2 separate regions of the Homo sapiens genome follow, and region 2 is linked to region 1. The links are contacts of gene promoters, found by promoter capture Hi-C in blood cells and fetal thymus (Javierre and others, 2016). All regions are on one chromosome and are shown on one strand. Each heading gives the region's core, a stretch centred on a gene start or on the middle of the fragment in contact. The rest is flanking DNA. Distances are from core to core; before and after follow the strand shown. Region 1 holds the start of CPA2 (carboxypeptidase A2). Region 2 overlaps LOC105375508 (a long non-coding RNA gene).

Region 1 (7,117 bases), core at 3,261-5,760:
GGGGTGGTGCCATGGGAAGTTCACACCTTGTGTCGGGGGAAGAACCTGGCCTCTTCAGCTCATGAGTGGTGGCCTGAAATCAATCTGTGAGGTGGGGGCCTGTTAGCAGGACCCCCTCTCACTTTGCTGAGAGTTTTTTTCTTTTTTGCCCAGTAAACTCCACTCTACTCACCCTTCAATGTGTCTGCGTGCCTAATCTTTCCTGGTTGTGTGACAAGAAGCCAGTTTTAGCTGAACTGAGGAGCAAAAATTCTGCAACACAAGCTTGGGAATTGTGCTTGTGCCTGCATTGCCAAGGGTCTCAGACTCTGCCAGCCAAAGGCCAAAGCCAAGTATTGAAGCAAGGCTCAGGCTGCAGCTCCAGCTTCAGTTCCAGCTTAGGCTCCAAAAGGTGCCCAGGCTCTCACAAAGGCTCCAGAGTAGAGACCTCTGTCTGCCAATGTGAGAACAGAAGGACTAGTGTGACCCCTGGGCTGCCCTCTGCACGGGGCTGATGTCCTCCAGTGCTATTTGTACAAATAAACCCGAGGCAGGGGGACAAAAAGCACTACAAATAACCCCGTTTCTACAGGCAAAGGCATTCAGAGTTTTGAGTTTGAAGTGCTTTAGAATCTGGTATCTCTACTGAAGGCTTCAATCTGTGGTTCTTTCTCTTATGGTCCCATATAGTGGCCTACTCACCCTACCGTTAGGCTATCTCACCTTCTGGGGTTAAATGGCGAGAAAGTCGAATTGTGCCTAACATCATCTTCATAGGGAGTAATATGCTATTAAAGCACTTTTCTAAAGAGAGCTATCATCTTTCTCTTTCTGAATTACGGCTTCCTGGGGGATAGGTTGATGAAGAAGCATTTGGCCTAAAATGGTCTTTTCCTAGAGCTGAGTAGAATTACCTTGGTTAATTGGATGAAGCAATGAACCAGGGTCTGAGGCTGGAGCTCCTGGTGCCTGCTCTAGCCCAGATCAGCCCTGGGGCTTTGTGTAAGTCGCTTCCCCTCTGGGGGCCTCATTTCCTCCTCTGCAAAGCAAGGAGGCTTCAATGATCTCTTTCTGGCTGGAGATTTTCTTAATGATTCTCAGAAACAGATTTTACTGGGGATGATAGATCTGTGATATGTGATATTGATTGTGGTGATGATTTCATCATGGATGTATACCTATGTCAAAACATGTCAAATTGCATGTCTTAAATATATGTAGTTTATAGACTGAGTTTCTTAAGAGAATGATACAAATTTAAAAATAAACATATGCCGTTTATTATATGTCATGTATACCTCAATATGACTGTTTAAAAAAATAGATTTCACCCAGCTTGTATGGTGGTGAGGAGGTAGAAATGACAATGCCCTATTCTGATATGTATCAGTTTATATTGTCAGAAACAGAAAACAGAGCTTTCTTAAGTTTTTCCTACAACCTCCTTCGAAGGCTTGTGCTTTCTCCTTCTCTAACTTCCTCTATTTATTTTATAAAATTACAATTTTCACCTTTCAAAAGACAAAATTACATCAAATTCAGTTTAAAGATCTCAGTTGGCTTTATTTGCGATTCTAGAATAGGGTAACACTTCATCCCATAAAACACAGTGAGTATTCTCATGAGCTAAGCAGAAGGGCTTGGCCTTACAGACAAAGACGGGCTGGATAACGCAGAAGCAAAAAACAAAGACTGTTAGTCTTTCCAAAGCTACTTTTCTTTTAAGGTGGGGACAGTGAGACACCACAATAGAAAAATAAGTGGTTGGTTAACATCAGGTGACTTCAGGCCACATTTTTTGTGTAAGGATTAAAGCAAAAGAGATTCATTATCGTGCCTATTGAAGATTTAAACTGGCCTGTTTGGGAAATTGCCTGTTATCTCTTTCTCCTGATTTCTCAGGTCAGTTAACAACCTATCTTGGGTCCTTAGCATGGGTGGCTCTGCTTTGATTTTTAGTCTGGTCTGCTGGGGTCTGGTATGGAAGCTTAGTCCAAAATAATGGCCTTCTATAATTTTTATTTGGCACATCCATCCAGGGAATGTTTATTTTTCTCACTCAGGCATCATCTTTGAGTCCTTTGGACTCAGGAGTGAGGTGGGGGCGAGGCATCTTTTGGACCCCCATTATAGCTCTAGGCTCAACACCCCCTTCCATTGTTCTTCCCAGCAAGGAAAGAGAGCTATCATGTTCCTAGCACTGAGAGTGGATTCAATCATTGAGTAGCACTTCTCAGCAGAAATTCCTTTTTGAAAGCTTAACAGTAGGGGAGATAATCAAAACAAATTCTTACAGTGGAACTTCACCCAGTGTCACAATGGATGGGGAGATGTTGTGGGGGCAACCATGGAGGTGGCTACCTATCCCTCCTTTAACACGGGCTGGAACTTCCTTTCCCCACCTTCTCCTTCTATATCCAGTCATGCACCAATTACTCACCACAGGCTTGTGTTTCTTCCACTGAAATCTCTCTTCAAGGCCATCTCAGACATTTCCTCTGCCATCCACAAGTCCAGATGTAGCATCCTAAATCTCGGTTTCCCCAAGAGGCTCATATTTGGCTCCCTGCTTAGAGGATCTCTGCCAGGCACCATCCTGCAAGGTTCACCATTTTCAGCATTGCCCTCATCAATCAGTTACCTGCTTAGAAACCTTCCAAGGCTCTCCATATCATCTGGTGTGTACTCCTCTGTTTGGATTGTGAGATCCTTTGCCCTCTAGCCCACCTTCTGGTATTTTACCTTCCCCACCACTCCCAGGTTCAAGTCTCTGCTCTGCTAGGCTAAGTTTCCTCCTTAACCCAGCTGTGTATCATGTGCTCTCCCCTGGTTCCCTGTCTAGCTTATATTTTCTTACCACCAGAAATCCAGGCTCTTTTCACATTTGCCTTGGCACAAAGGCTCAGCTCAAACTCCATTTTTTTTTTTTTTTTTTTGAGACGGAGTCTCACTCTGTTGCCTAGGCTGGAGCGCAGTGGTGCCATCTGGGCTCACTGCAAGCTCTGCCTCCCGGGTTCACACCATTCTCCTGCCTCAGCCTCCTGAGTAGCTGGGACTACAGGCTCCCGCCACCACACCCGGCTAACTTTTTGTATTTTTAGTAGAGACGGAGTTTCACCATGCTAGCCAGGATGGTCTCGATCTCCTGACCTCGTGATCCACCTGCCTTGGCCTCCCAAAGTGCTGGGATTACAGGCGTGAGCCACTGAGCCCAGCCTGAAACTTGATTTTTTCCAGGAAGCTTTTATTGATTCTCCAAGTACATACTTCCAGTTTATTGAACTACTGTTTATTTGATAGGTGCTGGAGACATGAGGATGAATTATGGCCTCTGCCTTTTGGTTTCTGTCTTCTCTCTGACTCCCAGGAGAATGAAAAACCAAGTTAATCCAGTCATTCTTAAAATCAGAAACACTGTGTATATACCTTTCCCCTTAAAGCAGATATTTGAGAATGCAAACCCAGAGATTTAAAGTGTGTGCTGATAAATTTGACACACAAAGGACAGACGAAAATTTCCTTGCTGCTTGTTGTGGTTGAGGCTTTCTAGGCTTAATATAACGTGTATGAACAACTAAAATTAAATAAACTATGGTTTCTAAAAATAAGCAGTTATATTTTCTTCTTAAGCAATGAAGAACAAAGTCAGATTAATGTAGATCTATGTTTATGAACAAGAAAAGATCACCTTTGTTTAAAGAACAGTATACGTGATATGGTCTAATCTTTGTTTAAGAAAAAAACTCGAAAGCAGAGAAAGAAATTTGGAAAGACATATGCCAAATGGTTTTCTTTGGATGGAAGAATTATTGATGGTTAAAGAAAACACTTTCTTTTAATTCACACTTTTTATAACAAGCAACTTCATTGTTGCTTGTTATAGGAAATGTCATCAGAAAGACATTTTCATTTTGGGAAAAAGCACAGAAAGAGGGATATCAATTTGGTGCAAATGCAGATGGATCACTTTCGAGAAAGTGCAAAATTGAATATTAAAAGGCCTTCTGTTTTGTTTTAATGTAGAGTGAGGATTGGAATGGGCCACATCTACAGGGACACTCAGCAGATGTGGACTGAGTGACTGCAGTGTTTCAAGGTAAACATTATAAAAATAAACAAATGAGCAAACTAATGGAATGTGATAGACAGGATGCCTGAGTAATTACTATAAATGCTCTGGCCTTTTTTTTGTGTGTGTGTCAGAGACCCAGAAAAGACTTTAACCTCTAGGTCTATTAATCTGGCTTCTATCACAGGGTAGCTAGTGGCGTTTTATGGTCTCAATCATAACTATATTGCCCTTGGTATGCTCTAGCAATTTTGTTCTCTTTCCATCAAAGTTTGTTATCTTATCCTAGGAATGGAACATGTACACATTGGTGATATCACACAGGTGGATGTCTACAACCTTGAGAATTTCACATGCAGGTGGGAATTTTCCCATGTGGGAATTCACGTGAGTTCTCAGAAGGCCAGCAGATCACCCTCAGCTGCCATCCCTACAAATAAAGTTCAGGAAGGACTCTGAATTCTGGACTCCAGGAAAACCCATGGCCATGAGGTTGATCCTGTTTTTTGGTGCCCTTTTTGGGCATATCTACTGTCTAGAAACATTTGTGGGGTAAGTTATGCTTTCTGGTGCTTCTTTGAATTTTACTTACCTGATTGATGGAGGCTTTGATTGTTACAGAGTAAATGGGTATAAGTGTTCAGTGTTTTCAGAGAAGTTCTCTTAGATTTGGGGATAAGTCAATAGTGTGAAAAAAAGGAGTGGATGATCAAAAAGGAGGTGAATGACATTTAAAGGAAAAGACAAAAGTGAAAACTGAACACACATAACCCTATTTCTCTCTGTCCTTACTCATTTTTCCCTCCAGTGATCAGACTGTAGGGATGATAGACATCAGGGAAAATACAGCTGTGTGGCCATTTGTTCCAGGCAACTCAGCGGGTGTCAATGCTACTCTCCCACCTCCTCCTGCTCTTCTGGGCTTTACCATCCACGTTAGCCCTTGTGCCCTAACCCCCGATCTTTAGATTCAGCACCTAGGTGGTGGAACCTCATGAAGTAGAAAGGCCAGGGCTATAGATTTCAGCTCAACTCCTCCTCTCCTGGCTTTGGAGGACTCATCTTTGCTCCAAAGTACTTTGCTTCATGATTCTATGAAGGGTTTCAGGCAGCATTTTTTGAAGAGTGGTCCAGGGAGCTAAGAAAGCAATCAAATAAGTTTGGTCCCAAAAAGCCACTGGTCAAATAAATGTGGGAATCAGAGGATTAAACAAACTATAGGATTTCTAGGAGCCTTGGCTAAATCAGTGTGCATTATAAATCTATAAGAGGGGATCTAGGTTGCAGCATGTACTCTTTTTTTTAATCATAAACTACCTACTGCTCCCAGCTTGCCCTTTCTTTCTTTCTCTTTCTCTTTCTTTCTTTCTTTCTCTTTCTTTCTTTCTTTCTTTCTTTCTTTCTTTCTTTCTTTCTTTCTTTCTTTCTTTCTTTCACTGAGTAACTCAAAGAACTACTATTCTTTAGAACACACACCAGGAAATATGACCCTGTTGTATTACTTTTCTCAGTGCCTTCCCATTTTAAAGGAGGACTCCTGGGAGTCCATGCATTAACCGAAAATAATGAGACTTAAATGGAAGAATTTTCAGACCATTTGTGGCAGGTGAGCCTCGAAGAGCTCACATTCCATCACTTCTGTATTCCACTGGAGTTCGTAGGAAATTGCATGGAGCTTGGTTTCAGAAGACCCATATTCTGGTCCCTGTACATGGCTCATTGTATTGATTCCTTCCCCACTGCACAAACAGTTGGGGCAGTGACTTAGGAAGTCTGCCTACGTGGAGAAAGGCTAGAAGGGGAAACTCTGTCACCAAGGGAACTCTTCCTAAAGAGATGTGCTTGATTGTTTTGAGATTTCTCTTTCCTGTTCATCCTTCATTCCCTATTAAGGGGGTGTGTGTGTGTGTGTGTGTGTGTGTGTGTGTGTGTGTGTTTGTAAAGAGAGGCACGGCACATAATTTGTCAGGGTCCCAACTATCTCTGGCCATGCCCCATGTTTGGGCCCCATGAATGGGGTCTGGGGATGGAACCTTGATACATTTTCAGTTGACAAAATCAAAGAACAAACAAAACCCCCAAAACCATTAAAAACAAAATCTTAGGACTACCCACATATGAATTGTTTCCTCTTACAAGCACCAAATTATTCCACTTTTTAAAAACTTACTTCTGAACAACAGGAACAGGCAAGTATTAAAAGCTATAACACTCCACAAGCAGCAGGTTTTATTTGACTCATTAGCTATGGGAAAGGTAACTTTAATGGCAGGCTTCCTGCTAGGAGCAGGTACACCTATTCATTATTATTTAGATAACATTTCCTGGGAGGAAATAACGCCATTCTATCACCTTCTCATTCTGGCGATGTGGGTTTAGTATACTATTTATTAGTTTCTGGATTGTCACAGAGATTATTGACTGTTGCATTAATCTGTTATACGCAGAGACTAACAGGTGCAGAAAGCAACAGGAAACAGTGTCCAGGTTTTGCTTTTAAGGTCATATTTGTGGTTAATTTTCTTTAGAGACCAAGTTCTTGAGATTGTACCAAGCAATGAAGAACAAATTAAAAATCTGCTACAATTGGAGGCTCAAGAACATCTCCAGGTATTTGATCTAGTGGGAGTTGCTGTTCCCAGAATGAATACAGTTAAACATGATTGAGCTCTATTTTCGACTGTATTCTGACTCCCATGACATAGTGTGAAATGCTAACTCATGCAGCTGGGGTTCTGAAAACCTGGGCTCTAGTCCCAACTACAGGACATTGGGCAAGCCACCTACCTTCCCTGTGTCTCATTTTCTCACTCAGAGTAATGGCGATAAATATGCCGTTCTTCTATCTCTCAGGTTTATTGTAAGAATGAGAAGAGATATCAAATGTGAAAGTTACTTTCAAAAATTAAACACCTTTAGTGCATATTTCCCTTATAAAATAATTTATAGCATTTATATCCCATTATTAAATGAATTGGATTGCTAGAATCCCAGCTTAAAAAAACTGCCATCGTTTTAATAATCTTTTCCTTCTGCCAGTTTTAATATCTAGCCATAGGGGCAGGGGAA
Region 2 (6,969 bases), core at 565-3,064, 520 kb after region 1:
ACTGTTAAATTTTTCACTTGGTAGTTGATTATTTTTTTATTTCATTGAATTGTTTCTCTGTATTTTCTTGAAATTTACTGAGCTTCCTTGAAACTATTATTCTGAATTCTTTGTCAGGCAGTTTGTATATCTACATTTCTTTGGGGTTGGTTACTAGGAAATCATTGTCTTCTTTTGGTGGTATTATGTCTCCATTGTTTTTCATGTTTCTTGTTGTCTTTGTACATATCTGTGCATTTGATGGAGCAGTCACCTCTTCCAGACTTTACAGGCTAGTTTTGCTGTGGAAAGACCTTCCCCTGTAGGGGAGTATGAAAGTGCTTGCTTGGTGGTGTTCAGGGATTCTGATACCAGTGACAGTGCAGCTGTGTAGTCTGTGTGTGGCACTGTAAGCCGAGGTCAGTGTTAACAAAGATTGCAGAGATCCTCAGTGGCCAATATTGTGGATGTCTATAGTGGCAGTAAGGATTGTTAGGATCTTCAGTGGCAATGGCTGCTAAGTCCTCCTGATCTCTTTTTTCCTCTCTGGAGATGTTGGTGCTGAGGGGATCCCTCTTGGCACTGGGTCTGGCTTGTAGGCCCACTCCTGGTGGCGGTGGCACTGGTGTCTGATGCATGGCACCTGTGGAGCAACCACAGTGCTGAGGCCTGAGGCACAGGCATGTGTAGAGGGACTGCAGTTGTGGGATCCAGGGTGGTAATGCCACTGGTGCCCAGGGTGAAGGCACCCCTGTTGCTGAGTTGGTGAAGATATGCAAGTTGCAGATGTTTGTGGATTAGCTGGGGAGCTGAGAATGGGAACACAGGTGTGTGCAGAGTTAGAGTGGCTCTGGGGTCCAGGTGGGGCCTAGCTCTCTATGGTAGCTGAGCTGGTGCCCAGAGAGCAAGCATAGACAGTGAAGGTTTGGCTCCTAGGCCTGGCGTGTGAACTAGCTCACTTTGGTGATGACTCCAGTGTCAGGCCCAGTACAGCCACAGAGTCCAGGTGCTATAGTTTGAATATTTGATCCTCCAAACCTCATGTTGAAATTTGATCCCTAATGTTGGAAGTGGGGCCTATTGGGAGGTGTTTGGGTCATGAGGATCCCTTATGAATGGCTTGGTGCTATCCTTGTGGTAGTGAATGAGTTCCCTATTAGTTTCCCCAAGAGCTTGTTGTCCAAAAGAGCCTGGCACCTTCTCTCTCTCCCTTGTTTCTGCTGTCACCATATGATCTCTGCATGCTAGTTGCCTTTCACCTTCCATCATGAGTGGAAGCAGCATGAGACCCTCATAGGAAGCTGAGCAGACCAGCACCATGCTTCTTGTACAGCCTGCAGGACTATAAGCCAAATAAACCTCTTTTCCTTATAAATTACCAGACTCAGGTATTCCTTTAGAGCAACACAAATGGACTAAGATGCCATCATCGGAGTGCGGGCACTCGCAGTGCAGTGTAGCTCCAGGATCAAAGAACACGTGGGCTTGGGAGAGGTAGTGGCTCCTTTCTTGAATTGGCTCAACAGTCTATCAAATTCATGGATGGGGACGGGGTGTTCAGGCATCTCTCTGTCTCTGGGGTTCTCTGGTGAGAAGGGCTGTTGGTTAGCTCAGTAGCAAGAGATGCCAGTGTCCTTTGTGGAGCAGGCCCCTGGGAATGCTGGTGGTTCACATCATGTAACTGATACCGATAGTCTTTGACTTTCTTCTTTTTAGCTACTAGTCATCTCCTGGCATCTTAGCTATGCCAGTCTCACCAGCGATATTTTTTATGTGAATATTCCCTGGATTTTTATGCTCTGCTGTATTCCTGCAGATTCTTTAATGAACCATTGAGCTCCCTCTGGACTATTTTGTTTTGTGCATAGCTGTTTATATTTGTTTTTTTGTGTGTGGTAGATAAGGGCTGGTATTTCCTACTCTGTTATCTTGGCGATGTTGCCTCTTGTATATTCTGGAGGAAAAAAGGTTTTACTTCTGATGCTCAATGTAATAAGTTTTTTTTTTTTTTTTTTTGAGACAGAGTTTCACTCTTGTTGCCCAGGCTGGAGTGCAATGGCACGATCTTGGCTCACTGCAACTGCTGCCTTCCGGGTTCAAGCGATTCTCCTGCCTCAGCCTCCCAAGTAGCTGGGATTACAGGCATGCGCCACTATGCCTGGCTAATTTTATATTTTTAGTAGAGCCGAGGTTTCTCCATGTTGGTCAGGCTGGTCTCAAACTCCTGATCTCAGGTGATCCACCCACCTCGGCCTCCCAAAGTGCTGGGATTATAGGCGTGAGCCACCGCACCCAGCCAATTTAATAAGTTTTTAAGGTTAAAGATACTGACTGGTGTCCTCTCTAAAAACTATTCACCTAACTCGAAGTTGCAAAGATTTTTCTTTCATGTTTTCTTCTATTGTTGAAAGAATGGTTTTAGCTTACAAGTTTAGGCCTATAACCTATTTAAGATTGATGTTTGTATGTGATATAAGGTATGGATTGAGACTTATTTTTAAAATATAAGTATTCAATGGTTCCAGCACTGTTTATTGAAAAGATCATCCTTTTAACACTAAACCACAGAAGCCTCTTAATTGTAAAACAATTGCTTATATATGTGAGGCTGTATTCTGAAACCTCTGTTATAGTCACCTCTTCTTATGCCAGAATCACCTTGGCTTAGTCCCTCTCAGAGCCTGATCATTTGCTCCTCACTCTTGCCTTGTTTCTGAATCTTTCCAGCTTTTGTGTGGCTGGACTGTTTCCAGCTTCTGTTCTTGAAGCTCTTTTCTTGTCTTTGATAGCAGGATTCAGCTTTTCAGTGACACATTTACAGAATCCATGCTTACTTGGGGTCATCTTAATGTTTAGTCGGAAAACCATCTATAGTAAGAGAGCTGTTAGCCTGAGCTTGTGCAGACTGTGCCTCTTCCATGCCTCCATTAGTCTCAGGAATGCTGGGAGACAAGGCTTGAGTTGGGGAATGTGAAATAAAACGCAGTATCCTATGAAGTTCTTCCCTGGTGTATTGCCACGGTTACTTTTTTGCTTTTTTGAGATGGAGTCTCGGTTTGTAGCCTGGCAGAGTGCAGTGGCACAACCTTGGCTCACTACAACCTCCACCTCCTGGGTTCAAGCGATTCTCCTGCGTCAGCCTCCCAAGTAGCTGGGATTACAGGTGCGCACCATCACACCCAGCTAATTTTTGTATTTTTAGTAGAGATGGGGTTTCACCATGTTGGCCAGGATGGTCTTGATCTCTTGATCTCATGATCTGCCTGCCTCGGCCTCCCAAAGTGCTGAGATTACAGGTGTGAGCCACCATGCCTGGCTCTTTACTATTTTTTTTTTTAAAAGGAACACAGTTAAATATTTCAAAGACATCCCAAATGAGTTATTGGTGGGGTCACAGAGGCTTCCTTTTTTTGCCACCACAGTGAAAAATCAAGAATTTTGAAAGTTAAAGCTGATTGATTATTTCTTCGGATACATAAAGAAAGATGTTAAAGCGTATTACAAAGTGCAAAAAAGGAGACATTCAGCAGAGCAAAAACAAACTCTTAGAAGAGCCCGAAGCAGCAGGCTGATTGTCTTGATGAGAGGGTGGAGAAATGAACGTGCTTCCTAGTTTTGTGGTTTTCCTGCAGTTTCTGGACACAGATCTCTGCTCCCACACCAAGATCTCTGCGTCTTTGGGGTCTGGTTTCTCTTCTCTAGTGACCAGTCCCCAGTGTATGTGATTCTAGGAAGTTAAATGTCACACAGTTCCTTATGCTGTATCCCTCTTGTGTCCCATGACACCCTGTCTCAAGCAGAGAGTTTGGAAATCATAAATCAGGGGAAGGGAGGCTAGCTAAGGGCTTTACATCCACCACCTGTTATGAGAGAATTATTTAATCCATTTTGGAGATGTGAAAACCAACTCTCAGCAGTCAAGTGATTTGCCCAGATTCAAACATTGAGGACATGGCAGGATTAGCATTTGAGCCTAGGCCCATCTACTGTCAGAGCCCATGCTCTTTCTTCGGTGCCCTCATAGGCTGGCTGTAAAGTCCAGACCCAAGACTGTGGTTTCCTGTGACAATACACTAGGAGGGATGGAGACTGGGAATGGAAGGCTCCTGAGGCTTCAAGGAGAAAACTACAGAGAGGCCATGAGAGGCAACAGGTGGCCAGCACTCTCCTATCCCCACCATATGTGGTGGCACCTGGGGACAAGGCCATTTGCTTACTCCAATCCTACAGACACCCATTTGGTTTCTCTCTTCCTCTTGTTCTTCAGCACAATCTTAGGAGGAAAAGAAATGTCATCTGCTTTCTAATTTAATTCCCTTTTTTCTACTCTTTATTATTTTTCCTTATTATAGAAGAAATGGTTTTCCATTAATACAAAATTCAGACATCATCAAAACTATAATAAACATTTGCTGTGATCCTACCTGCTAAAGATAACCATCATTAAGTTCAATGCATAGTCTTCCTTTTTCATATTTATACATATGCTAACATATATTAGAATTATTCATTTACTTTTACAAGAAGAAGGTCAGGCTGGGGACATGGAGGGCTCCTACCTGCGTAAGCAGAGGTCTTGCACCTGCATAAGCAGGGCCATGATCATGCCTGTAATCCCAGTGCTTTGAGAGGCCACGGCAGGGAGTCTCTTGAGTCCAGGAGTTCTAGACCAGCCTGCACAACAGGGTGAAACCCCATGTCTACAAAAAATTTAAACTTAGCTGAGTTTAATGGTATGTGCCTGTGGTCCTAGCTACTTAGGAGGCTGAGGCAGGGGGACACCTTGGGCCTAGGAGGTCAAGGCTACAGTGAGCCATGATCATGCTACTGTACTCCAGCCTGGGTGACAGAGCAAGACCATGTCAAAAAAAAAAAAAAGTCACAAATAATGTTGCAATTTTTCTACCACTTTTAAAATCCTTTGAAACATTTCTTGTGTTGGTATATGTAGATCTTATCTGACTGTATTCTTGTAAATAGATATATAACATAACATTGGGTGCACCACAGACTATTTATTTATTTATCTGGTGGAAATCTTATTCCTCCCCCTCATGTTGCATGAGGGAACTTACATTCCCAGGGTATAACACTATTAGTGATTCCAGACTTCATTCTCTCCCCTAGGTGGGAATGATTTATCTTACTGTTGAAACTAGGAGAAGAAACTAGGCATAAGCGGCCCTGCCCTCTTTGAGCTTTTAGTCCCAGTGGCTGGCCGTCAAAGATGCCAGGAGTACAGTGACTGGGGGACCTCTGCTTCTGCAGGTGGGAGACTGAATCCTGGGTGGGCGTATTAGTCTGTTCTCACGCTGCTATAAAGAACTGCCTGAGACTGGGTAACTTATGAAAGAAAGAGGTTTAATTGACTCACAGTTCCACATGGTTGGGGAGGCCTCAGGAAACTTACAATCATGGCAGAAGGGGAAGCAAACACATCCCTCTTCACATGATGGCAGGACGGAGAAGTGCCAAGCAAAGGGGAAAAAGGCCCTTATAAAACCATCAGATCTCATGAGATCTCATTCACTATCACAGAACAGCAAGGGAGTAACTGCTCCCATGATTCAATTACCTCCCACTGGATCCCTCCCATGACACATGGGGATTACAGGAACTACAATTCAAGATGAGATTTGGGGACACAGCCAAATATCAATGGGCCATCTTGGAGAGTGGAGGAAGGAAATAGAAAGCTCACCTGTGGCCTCATATTTTGCTTACATTCTCCAGTGAAGTTTAGTGTGGATTTTGAATTTCATCTGTCCTAAGCTTATGGCTTTTCAAAAAAAAAAAAAAAATCCCCTCTCTTTCTCAAAAGAGAGAGCAGTATTATTTTTTTGGCCTCTTCAAATCCCAGCATTCTCGTTCCCCACTGATGGACAGACATTTGTGTTTTGTTACAACAAATATCGCCTTTGTCACAGCAAGTATTGCCTTTGTCCAACGTTTACATTTTGTGTCTATGCCAACAGGGTTGACAATAGGAATGATGTCTTTGAAAGAAGCTCTTTTTTTGGAGAAATCTCTGAATCTGGGCCTAGGGTCAGTACTCAGGGAGAACCCAATCAAAAGCAACTACAGTAGGATGGACTGAAGAGTCTCTTGAGGCATGGTAAGAAAGCTGTATTGCAGGAGGTTTTGTTCATTTGCCTATTCATTCAGTAAGCACTGACGGGTCACTTCCAATGTTCCAGGCACAAAGTCAGCTTTTATGGAACCTGCAATGCACAAAGAAACAAGCAATAAACAAGGAAATGTCAGAAAATAATAACTGCTATACAGTCTTAAAAGAGTAATGAGTTTCAGTAAAAGCAATTTCCGAGTACATCTTGAAGCTGTCATAAGAGAATGCTTTCTGGTGTAAAAGTTGAAACGTATTCATAGGCTTTCTTTCAGAAATTTCTAGTTCTTGAGCCTCTGTTACAATATTTTGGTAAGTGATTTGTTTTCCATGGTACTTTCCATTTCATCGGGATTTCAGAAAAACTGTGTTGCCCTCAACCCTCTCCCCACAGACCTCTGCACATACATCTTTTCAAGGCAGGCACTTTAGAAAAATACAGATAACTAAATATGGATGTGTATATGTGTTTATTTTCAGCATAAATTTGCTTAAAGTGCTATTTTCCAAAATATTTTGTCTTCCAAAAGAAAGACTAATTTTCTGAAATAGTTTGTCAGTGTCTCTAGGGCATCCTTCAGTTGGGTGGCACTAGAGTTTCAGTATATTTAAAAAATATTTTCTTATTGTTGTATTTCCTATGTGTGGTGAGATACTATTTTAAAACCCAGAGAGGCCTTGGAGACACAGTAAAGGAGGCCAGTTTGGGGTAATGGCTTGACACCAGCTGGGACCATGGAAAACCTATTCTAAGCCTGCGTGCTTTTGGTGTAAGCATGTGGGCACTTGAGGCCTTCTAATATGAAGCCCAATAGCCTTCTGTTCTGGGAAATTGTTCCCTGTTTTATTTGTTTGTTTGGTGGTGC

The links. The method cuts DNA at HindIII sites, captures the fragments that hold promoters and counts their contacts. A CHiCAGO score of 5 or more calls a contact.
Region 2: a contact is called between a fragment that was not itself captured here and the fragment with the promoter of CPA2 in region 1, in 2 of 17 cell types (M1 macrophages and M0 macrophages). The highest score is 7.8, in M1 macrophages.

What each region holds. Positions count from the first base shown.
Region 1 is chr7:130,262,353-130,269,469 of GRCh38, forward strand. It overlaps CPA2 (carboxypeptidase A2), which reads left to right and starts at 4,511. Exons shown (of 11, transcript NM_001869.3): 1 at 4,511-4,600; 2 at 6,577-6,658. The coding sequence starts at 4,530. The HindIII fragment of the contact is 5,023 bases long and covers 3,219-7,117 here.
Region 2 is chr7:130,785,945-130,792,913 of GRCh38, forward strand. All of the region lies in intron 3 of LOC105375508 (a long non-coding RNA gene), which reads left to right. It overlaps LOC105375509 (a long non-coding RNA gene), which reads right to left. Exons shown (of 3, transcript XR_007060528.1): 3 at 4,975-6,200. Among named protein-coding and RNA genes, the nearest start is that of KLF14, 55 kb to the left of the region's middle. The HindIII fragment of the contact is 7,869 bases long and covers 1-5,749 here.